Regions from separate parts of the Homo sapiens genome. Here region 1 is linked to region 2. The links are contacts of gene promoters, found by promoter capture Hi-C in human tissues and cell types (Jung and others, 2019). All regions are on one chromosome and are shown on one strand. The core of a region is centred on a gene start or on the middle of the fragment in contact, and the rest is flanking DNA. Distances in the headings are between cores, read along the strand shown.

Region 1 (5,603 bases), core at 1,617-4,116, 170 kb before region 2:
GATTTGCCTATTCTGGACATTTTATATAAATGTACAGTTGGCCCTTGAACAACAGGGGGTTTAGTGGTACTGACCTGCACAGTCAGAAATTCATGTATAACTTTTGATTCCCCCCGAATTTAACTAATAGCCTGCTCTTGACCAGAAGCCTTAGTGGTAACATAAAAAATTGATTTACACATATTTTTTATGTTACATATATTATACACTATGCTCATAATAAAGTAAGCTAGACAAAAGAAAATGTTATTAAAATCATAAGGAAGAGAAAATATAGTTACTATTCATTAAGTGGAAGGTGATCATCTTAAAGATCTTCATCCTTGTTGCTCTTCTTCTTCATCATTTTCTTGTTGAGTAGGCTGAGGAGGAAGGGGAAGGTTGGTCTTGCTGTCCCAGGTGGCAGAGACAGAAGAGGTGGAAGAGGAGGCAGAAGAGGCAGGCATACTTGATGTAACTGTCATTGAAAAAAGTCCCCTTATAGTGGACCCATGCAGCTTAAACCTGTGTTGTTCAAGAGTCAAATATAATCAATATGTGGCCTTTCTGGATATGGTGATACACACCTGTAATCCCAGCACTTTGGGAGGCTGAGGCAGGTAGATCGCTTGAGCCCAGGAGTTCAAGACCAGCCTGGGCAACATGATGAAACCACAAAAGTTAGCTGGTGTGGTGGCACATGCCTATAGTCTCAGCTACTTGGGAAGCTGAAGTGGGAGGACTGCTTGAGCCTGGAAGGAGGAGGCTGCAGTAAGCCAAGGTCGCACCTCTGCATTCCAGCCTGGTTGACAGAGTGTGACCCTGTTTTTGTTTGTTTGTTTGTTTGTTTTTTCTAAAAAGGCCAGGCACAGTGACTCACACCTGTAATCCCAGCACTTTGGGAGGCTGAGGTTGGGGGATCCCCTGAGGTCTGGAGTTCAAGACCAGCCTGGCCAACATGGTGAAACCCCATCTCTACTAAAATACAAAAATTAGCCGGGCGTGGTCGCGTGTGCCTGTAATCCCAGCAACTGGGGAGGCTGAGGCAGGAGAACTGCTTGAGCCTGGGAGGTGGAGGTTGCAGTGAGCTGAGATTGCACCTCTGCACTCCAGCCCGGGCGGCAGAGCTAGACTCCATCTCAAACAAACAAACAAACAAACAAACAAAAAAAGTGGCCTTTTGTGACTGGCTTCTTTAAGTTAGTATATTTTCACTGTTCATTCATGTCATAGCATGTATTAGGACCTCATTCCTTTTTACTGCTTAATAATATTCCTTATGTCATTCATTTATTCTTATTAATAAATGGTTAGTGGTATATATTTTCCTGATTACTGTGTTAAATGTATCACATTGATTCTGATATGTAGTATTTTCATTATCATTATTTTCTGACAAGTTCTATAATTTCCATTTCTATTTTCATTTTTTACCCAAGAATTATTTCATGGAAATATTTTTTAAATTTCCAGGTGGACTTTTAATTTTATTAGTAATTTCTAGTTTTATTGCCTGGTGATTTGAGTGTGTTGTTTGTAGACTGAGGGGATTCTTAGTTCTATGGTGCCCTCTTCTGTAAGTGTAGTAGAATGGGGTCTTGCAATACTACCCAGGCTGACTCTTTTTAGGTGCAATCATGGTGCACCACAGCCACAAACCCCTGGGCTCAGGCAATACTCCTGTCTCAGCGTCCTGAGTCGCTGGGACTACAGGTGTACCTTGTCCTCTTTTGCTGCTTTTCTCCTTCACCGCTCAATTGCACCATACAAATGTCCTCTTACATACAAATGTCCTCTTATGCTGCTTTTCTCCTTCACTACTCAATTGCACCAAAAGGGACCTTGCCCTTTCATTTTGCTTTTTTTTTTCCTCTCAGAACTTATACCTTTAAGATTCCCACCTCAGATCTCCTGTGTTTTTCAGCCCATTCCATATAGTCATGGTTTGATCTATAGGAATATTTTCTTGGTATTTTCACACTTGGGGAGGAGGTCTTTCTTTTCTTGGTAGTTTAGAGCAGTTGTTGGCCTGCGATTATCTCCCCTCTTCTCTGCACAGTTTCCTCAGCCTGCCCATGTACCCTTAAAGGTTTGTGTAGAAACGTGAGCAGTTGTTGGCTGGGATTTGGTCTTATATATTTTTTCTTTTCTTTTTCTTTTTTTTTTAACTTATAGATAATTTGAAATTTGGCATTTTCTATTTTCTAGTTATGCTGAGAGTATGATTTGTGCTATTTTATTTTTTCTGGTTATTCTGTATTGGTTTTAGAGGCTATAGAGAGACACAGATTTTTTTTTTTTTTTTTTTTTTTTTGAGACAGAGTCTCAGTCTGTTGCCCAGGCTGGAGTGCAGTGGCGCAATCTCAGCTCACTGCAAGCTCTGCCTCCCGGGTTCACGCCATTCTCCCGCCTCAGCCTCCCGAGTAGCTGGGACTACAGATGCCCGCCACCACGCCTGGCTAATTTTTCTGTATTTTTAGTAGAGACGGGGTTTCACCGTGTTAGCCAGGATGGTCTCGATATCCCGACCTCGTGATCCACCCGCCTCGGCCTCCCAAAGTGCTGGGATTACAGGCGTGAGCCACCGCTCCCGGCCGAGAGACACAGATTTACGTGGCCTCCATTTTTCCTCAATTACCTGGAAATCCTGTTACTGATGTGTTTTTAAGTGTATATATTTTCTCAAGTTTTACATTGCTCAGAATAATTGGACAGTTTTCTAGTCTAAAATTTGAAATATAAATGTACACTATTTTAGTGGAAATGTCATTGTAGGGAACAAGGGCCTTGACCCTCTGAAGGTTCACTGAAAATCACTTACATGAGGCAGATTAACAGGAGAAAAGGCATACAAATTTATTTAACGTGTGTACACGGGAACATTCAGAATGAAGACTCAAAAAAATGGGAAATTGTCCATTTTTATGCTTAGGTTCAACAAAGTATGGAACAGCCCTATAGAAATATGATTGGACAAAAAGCATATGATCTAATGCTAATAGACTGAGTGGAGAAACCCAGCCAGGCCTGTCCATCTAGGTTCTTCTTGGCCTCTTTGAGCACACATTCCTTCCTTCTGGGCGTGGGGCAGGTCCCTTTCTGGAATGGGGGTCTTATGACCCACAGTCAAACAAGATAGGTCAGATAGTTTGTTTATGACCAGTTTTTACACAGAAAGGTGGAGGAAGTTAAAGTAATATTTCTAGGTTTTATGACTGGCTTTGGGGAAAAGGAGTTCTGGTTTCTATGACCTGCCTTGGGGAAGAGGGATTCTAGTTTCTATGGTTAGCCTCAGGAGAGAATGGGCCTGAGAGACAGGAGGGTAGGAGAAGGTCAGTGAAAAACTTTTGCTTCTGAGGCTATCATTTGGGGGTATTGTTTCTTTATTCTTCATTCGACAGATTTCTAAATGAATTGTAGAATTTTATATAATTTAAATTGTTATTTAAAATTGCTGTTTGTGAGTGTTCTGAATGTGCACTAGAAATGAATATGTAAGAAAGCTTATAGTAGTTTAAATCATTTGTAGAACCAGCCGAGTTTGTGGTTTCATAATTAAATTATAGGATATTAAAATAGTTTGACATAAAGGCATAGCCTTTGAATAGTCAAAAATCTTAATTGGCAATTCAGAATCAGTAGTCAATAAGCCCTTCATCAGTGGCCAGGCTTAATAAATATGTAAGTGACTGGCAGAATATTTTTCAAGGGGATGCTGTCTTTTATTGATTAATCAGATCCTATGTTACGAAAAAAGGAAGAAAAGATACGAACATTATTGAACATCTCTTATGTCAGACACCATGCCAAGTACTTTACTGTTTTAGCCACCCTTCTTCCTACCAATCTATGCATGGATTGCTTGCAAATCTAATAGAGACAATAAAGCATGTGTACTTCCTAAAACAAGGAATTTGTCACCAACTGAGGCCACCAATCCCAATTTTTAGGAGATTCCAATTGTTACAATTCCCTTTTTCATGTTGAACCCAAATCTCTCACCCTATGGTTTGCATCCATGGTCTTGTTTTTGTCTTCTGAGAATGACAGAAAAAGCCTATTTTACCTTGTAGCCCTTCAAATATCTGAAGCCAGCCTGACCCTATATTTAATTTCTTCTCTTAACTACTCTCATTAGACTTGTTTCATAACCCATAAGCAGTCTAATTGCTGTACTGTGATCCCATGTAAGCTATTCTGCTAGTCACATCACACTATGAAATCTCACTGAGCTTGAGGTTTCTCATAGTTGTTGCTCATTTTTGCAGGTTGTTGTGGGAGTTCAAGAATAGAACTGAGTGTTTAATTTATATTCTGATCCATCCTATTGATAGACCTTGTTGAAATTCAACATTATAGCAGTCCCTTCCAGCTTTAGGTTTGGTGAGAGAGCCTCTAGTTTTCTTACTCACTTTGTAATAGAAATATTAACAAGACCAGAGCTGAGGTTAGAAGTTAGTGCTAGAAACTTTTCTCTAGGTCAATGCATTAATTAATGCCTGTTGTTTCACATGAGTGTAATATTGGGAAATGCTTCATACTTTAATCCTCTTCTAGATGGTCATAATGCACATAGTGCAATAGTAAAGGCTCCAAATGTCTTACAGTAAAGACGTGTTTAGCTTTGTTTAACCATAGTCTAAACTTATTTGACAGAAGAACCCTCTTTTTTTTTTTTTGGTAACACCAAAAGATAAAAATGAAAATAACCCCCCAAAATCCCACACTACGATATTTCCTTATCTTGTCCAAAATGTTTTGAGAAATTTCGTTAATTTTCTTGCTGCTGTCCAGATACTATGTTTTCTTTGATCTAACAGTCAATTCAGTCACGAAAAGATAACACATAATTTGACTTGTCTTATTCTTATTGAACCCATATTGGCCTCCTCCTGATCACTATTCTTTTTTTGAGATGGAGTCTCACGCTGTCACCTAGGCTGGAGTGCAATGGCACAATCTCGGCTCACTGCAATCTCCGTCTTCCGGGTTCAAGTGATTCTCCTGCCTCAGCCTCCCAAGTAGCTGAGATGACAGGTGTATGCCACTATACCTAGCTAATTTTTGTGTTTTTACTACGCCTGGCTAATTTTTGTAGTTTTACTAGAGACAGAGTCTCACCATGTTGACTAGTCTGGTCTTGAACTCCTGACCTCAAATGATCCACCCACCTTGGCTTCCCAAAATGCTGGGGTTACAGGCATGAGCCATCGCGCTTGGCCCTGATCACTATTTTTATTGTTAGAAGATCACAAGTGTGGAATTTATCTTCTCTTTTTATTAGAATTGAGATAAGATTTGCTTAATTATATGTATGTCATTTTTGCTCTGAAGATCATCCTCCTTGATAGAGAAGAGAGAGATAAAACAGACATGGGGAACTTTGTACTTTACTGTGCCATTAATATAACATTATCAGCTCTAATTGGTGGCTTTCTTTTTTCTTTGGCCTTTACAGCACCAAATGAGAATTCAAAGCATATTTTATTCAGTTTTATCTTTTTAAAAGTAGTAAAAAAAAATTTTTTTTGCGTGTTTTACCTCATTACTGTACTTTTTTTTGTTTTCCTGACACGATTATTTAAATTTTCTGTTAAGGAATTTAAAAGGCATACATATTTCTT
Region 2 (5,271 bases), core at 499-2,998:
GGTCACTATAGTCGTGGCTCAGTTCTCCAGGAGTGGGTGTTTTCCTTTTAATGGAAGACAAAGTCTAATGCCTGACCCCAGTTGTAGAGATGGCATTAGACATTAGTGAGCTGCGGGAAGAGGACTTTCTGGGAATAGGGACTCTTCCAGGAGCCCATTGACAAAGCCTCTCTCCTTGACCACACTTTAGACAGGCTCCTCTGAGCCCTCTTTTCCACTGGGCTTTGTCCTTGGGCCTTGTCTTCAGCCTGCATAGTCCAGCTGTAGCAAAAGTCCTGCCAAGTCAGTTTAGTGAGGATCCCTCACCCTCCAGCATCCTGATACTGGATCAAATTCCTCATCCCAGATCAATGTCTGATCACCCTGGCCTGCCTTCAACAAGAATCCCCCTACCCTGATGTCTCCTGTAGTCATTTTCTGTCCCCGACCCCCTCCCTCTGCTCGCTGGCTATAAATCTCCAGCCATCTTTGTTGTATTTGTGGTTGGGTCCCATCTCTCTCCCCAGGAGGTCTTGATAACTACCCCCCTACCACAATAGTCCTGAATAGAGCCTTCCTTACCAGTTTAACTAGTGGCAGAATGATTTTGTCCTTAACACCATGGGAATGTCCCTCCCTCTCCTGTAGGAGATGGGGGCTGACAGGGAAAGGGGCTCTTTCCCAGGAAACGCAGCTTCTTCATGGCAGTTACACAGGCTGGAAACCCGGGGCCTGGCTCCCCTTCCTGTCCCCCAGCCCACATCCAATCGGCCCCCACATCCTGAAGCTCCCCCTTTTGAAAACAGTTCTCACGTCTGTCCCTTTTGTCTGCACTGCCGCATCTCCCCCAGGCTGCCCCTTCTCGGCCCCCTGCCTGCCCCAGAATCACCCCCTCTCCACTCAGCACCTGAGGGGTCTCCCAAGCTCCAAACTGGCCTGTCGCTCTTCTGCCCAAAAGCATCTCATGGTTGCCGCAAGCCCACGTGTGGCGATGGGACCTATGGGCCTGCTGGCCTCTGCGCTCCGGCCGCTGCACCTGGCATCTGCTGTCACCTCTGCCTAGAGCACGCTTCCTGGATCTCTTGTCATTTGAGCAGCCTTTAGGAGGTGTTCTCTGGTGCCTGTTTGAACTCACACAAGACCCCCCTCTTTCCCCGCCACAGCTCTTGGCCCTGTGTTTGTCATCATGAGGCACCCTCGCCTCTCCTCACCTGATGGTGCTGGGTTTGTAATCACTCCCCAGCCACATCACTGGTTCTTCCCTCTAGTCCTGCAAAGTGTTTATCACACCCATGTTACAGATGAGAAAACCAGGACCCAGAGAGGCAGAGGGATTCACACACTGTCATGGCACCAGGGAGCTGTGATGCTAGAACGGGACCCCAGATCCCTCAGGCCCACACGCCCCTCCTGGACAGGGGTCCCGAGATGCTCTGGGTGGCTGACCTGTGGTGAGAGGCGCCGGGTCCTCAAGAAGAAGCCGAGGAGGCAGCCCACGATGACAGACAGCACAGACAGGATGAGGAGTCCATTCCGCCTGCACACGTCCCTCCCCCGTGCCAAGATGGCATGCGGCACCATGGTGAGCCTGGCCTGCTGGCAAGGGGCACAGCACCATTCCACGCATGAGAGCCCGGCCGGGGGCACAGGGTCTGGGCTGAGGGCTCTAGCCCCTCAGCAGGCAGGTGGTCGGAGTTGCTAAACACCAGTCGCCAGCCCCACGGCCATGCCCGTGTGGCCGCCTTAGAGGGAAGCCACAATCCTATTACCAGCTGCATCATTAGGAGCTGGGAGCAGATTAGGGCCTGGGAAATTAGAGCAGACCACGTGGTCTAGGAGTTCAGGCCTCAAAGCCAAGCGTTCCTCTTAAACAGTTGAGTGGACCAGGTACTGGAAGGAACAAGAGGAACATTTGCTTGGTTGGTTTGATCTTTACCCCTGCTTCCTTCCAGAAAGAATCAAAAACAAGACAGTAAGATATCAGTTTCCCTCAACATTAATTAAGCATTTACTATGCACCAGGTGCCATTCTAGAAGAGTGTTACATGTACTGGCATATTTAATCCTAACACCAATCCCAAGAAATAAGTACTATTAATATCACCATTTTACAGATAAAGAAACTGAGGTGGGTGGGTGCATGTGCTGCGGGCCAGGCCTGTGCTGGCTGCCTTAGCTATGCCAATCATAGGGAATTGTCCCAAAGATCCCAGGGTTCCCACCTTCATTTTTCAGAAAGGGAGGCTGAGACCCCAGAAGCCAGTCCCTTGGCCATGGTCACAGAGGTCAGAAGTCAGGGCTAGGCCAGTCTGTTTCCACCACATGAACAGGCAGATAGGTTCAAGGGTGCTTGGCAGTATTGTGGGGAATGTAGATTCGAGTCCAGGGGACCTGAGTTCAAAGGTGGGCTGTGCCACTCACCGGGAAATGGGACGTAGATGCTTCAGGGCTGTTTCAAGCCTGGTGCTGGGCACCCTGCAGGCTCTCTGGGCCTATTATTTTTTAAAGATGACAGAGCCCAAGAGACCCACATTCGGGTCCCAGCTCTGCCACTTACTAGCTGTGTGACCTCAGACAAGCATTTCATCTCACTGTGCCTCAGTTTCTCCATCTGTAAAATAGAGATGATAACAGCATCTACTTTGTTAGGGCTGGTACAAAATTCCACCCAGAGGGTATTTGGAAACGCAGTGTGAACCCTGGTGTGCTGAACAGGGGAACGGACTCTTAGGGTCATTATCACACTTAGTGCTTTGGAGAATAGGTGTCTTTTTGCTATTTCTTGTGGCCTGGCCTGCCCTGCCCTGTAAAGCCTGGGGGAATTAACCCTCGTCTATTTCACCAGAGATCTGTAATCTCATTAGGAGCAGTCAGGCAGCAGGCAGCAGGGAATGGGAAGTGCAGTCTGCAGTGAGGGTGGGAGGTAAAGGGTGGGGTGCACACAGGGGCTTCCTCCTCCTGACATAGGAGACAGGGGCAGAGGATGAAGAGGACGGGCCAAGTGGGGCATAGGGGAGAGGTGGGGAGAGGGGACTGGGGCACAGGCTCTGAAGCCATGGACAGAGCTCCTGACTGAGAAGATTCTGATCCCAATTTAATCAGCTCTGTGACCTTGCCGTCTCTGGGTATCAGTCTTGTCCTTTTTAGAATGAGAGAAATGGGCCCAGGTACCTTTGTCAAAGGAACTTCATTTCAACAAACCAATCTTCCAAAGCCCCTGCTCTTTGCAGTAGCTTGGGGTGGGGGGTGGGGGTGAATACAAGTCTGAGAGTTTTTTTTCCTCTGACTTTGACTCTTAAAACCAAAAGTTTCTTGCTACACCTTCAACTCCAACAAATGCCTCATTTTCCAAATAATCAGGTGGTTAGTTACTTCCCAGAAGAGAAAATATGCTAAGTAGGTATTTGGATTTGGGTTTTGATCAACTCCTGGGCTCAAACAATCCTCCCATCTTGGCCTCCTAACGTGTTGGGACTGCAGGCATGAGCCACCACACCCAGCCCAGACCTGGCCTTTAGCTGTGCCATGATATAGGTGAGTCTTGCTTTCTACCACAGCTCCATGACTCCCATTCCCAGGACGTGCCCTATAGCCACCACTGACTCCTCTCTCCCACAGGCTGAGCCTACCACTACCTGCCTACCAGACTACAGCCATTCTTTCCACTGTTCCTACGGTCTTCAACAGGAGAATTTCAACTCACTCTAGCAAATGTTCTTATAGCACCATTTAGTGTGCCACACCCCCTGGGTACTAGAAACACAACAGTGAATCAGACAGTACCTGCCCTGCCTTCAGGAAGCTTATAAGAAAGTGGAGAGACCCCAAGAACGGACTAATTCACACTAAAGTGTAAGTGACTGATAATGAGTTTACTAAGAATATTTGCAAATCAAATCAAGTCTCCTGGGTCAGAACCCTATAATAGTTCACCATTGACAAAGAATCAACTGCCTTTTACAATGTCACTAGATGTGCAAGACAATTTTTCCATAATTACATCAAAAGGAAGTTTGGGAAATGCTGGACGAAACAAAAAGTTAAGCACGTTATTTCCTCTGAGACAGCTCAAAGTCAGACTGCTAGAGTTAAAACCTCAGCTCTACCTTCAACCAGCTGTGTGACCTTGGGAACATTTCTTAACTTCCCTGTAAAATGGGGATAATGCAACAGTACCTAGATCATAGGGTTTTGATGTGGGTCATACAGTGCTGCATGCGCCATGGTTAGAGCGTGGCCCAGTGCCTTGCAGATAGCCCCAGGTAGTTACTATGAAAGTCTTTACAGTAGCGGCTGTGTCGGAGGAAGTCACCAAGTGGAGAATAGAGAATCCCACCCCTCCTCTGGAGCAGAGAACTCCCTGGGCCTGGTGTTTGGAGAACACGCCTGGGAAACCCCGGTCTGCAGCATCGAGTCTATGCTCCCCTGCAAGGCACTTTCACCCTTTTCCTCACCCTTTCAGCATTACCTCCTACTCCTTCCGTCACCCCTCCAGCTCCTATGACACCAAACCACTGCAGGGTCCTGGAACGCTGCATCCTGTCTCAGGCTTCTGCACCTTTGCCTGTGCTATTTCCTTGGCCTAGAATGTCCTTCCTTGTCACGAAAGTTACAGGTTAAATCCCCCTCTTCTTCGAAGCCTTCCCTGATTACCCTAGATACAATACCTTCTCTTTTTCTCACTCTAACTCAGGCCCTTCACAGTCACCAGCTGGGGATTCACCTAGCTCCCTTTTAAGTGGCTCTGACAAGGAAATAAGAATCTATGAAAATAAAATCAAATCTCTGTTTGTTACCATGTCATTTGAAATCACCTCAATGGAGAATCCTCAAAGTTGGAGGGTATATTGGCAGGGGCAGCGGGGTGCTAGGGATAGCCTGAGGAGCAAGGTGTTGTATAATGGGCAGCAGGCGGCCTCAGAGATGCTTCTGGGGAGGCTTGAGCTGGACAGACTGAGATGCTATGGCAAAGAAGAGACATGGTGTTGGCGAAAATGAACGCCAAGTCACAGGTGCAGCTGCCTCACCCTGCAGAAGCAGGTGTGCAGTTGAGCTGTTCTTCACCGGGCCCTCTGCTTGGGTTATGCTGTGGGGAGAGCAGCAGGGGTTGACTTATTTGCTAATGATTAATGATTAATGATTCGCCAGGGCTACAGGCAGGGCCAACCCAGCCTGGGAAGGCGGGGATAGGAAGGCTTCCCAGAGGAGACGTGGTTTAGGCAGAGGCCTCAATAAGCCAGGGAAGGGGGTGCTGGTCAAGGGAGAGGGGAGACGACAGTCTGATTTAGGCCG

Evidence for each region. Contacts are between HindIII fragments. The study calls those that stand out against the background at their distance.
Region 1: a fragment that was not itself captured here is called in contact with the fragment with the promoter of SLC1A7 in region 2 in 2 of the 25 tissues and cell types used here (IMR-90 fibroblasts and thymus).

The regions. Positions count from the first base shown.
Region 1 is chr1:52,968,701-52,974,303 of GRCh38, forward strand. The region is part of intron 6 of SCP2 (sterol carrier protein 2); the gene reads left to right. Among named protein-coding and RNA genes, the nearest start is that of SCP2, 44 kb to the left of the region's middle. The HindIII fragment of the contact is 5,158 bases long and covers 288-5,445 here.
Region 2 is chr1:53,140,890-53,146,160 of GRCh38, forward strand. It overlaps SLC1A7 (solute carrier family 1 member 7), which reads right to left and starts at 1,749. Exons shown (of 11, transcript NM_006671.6): 1 at 1,426-1,749. The coding sequence starts at 1,560. The HindIII fragment of the contact is 7,479 bases long and covers 1-5,271 here.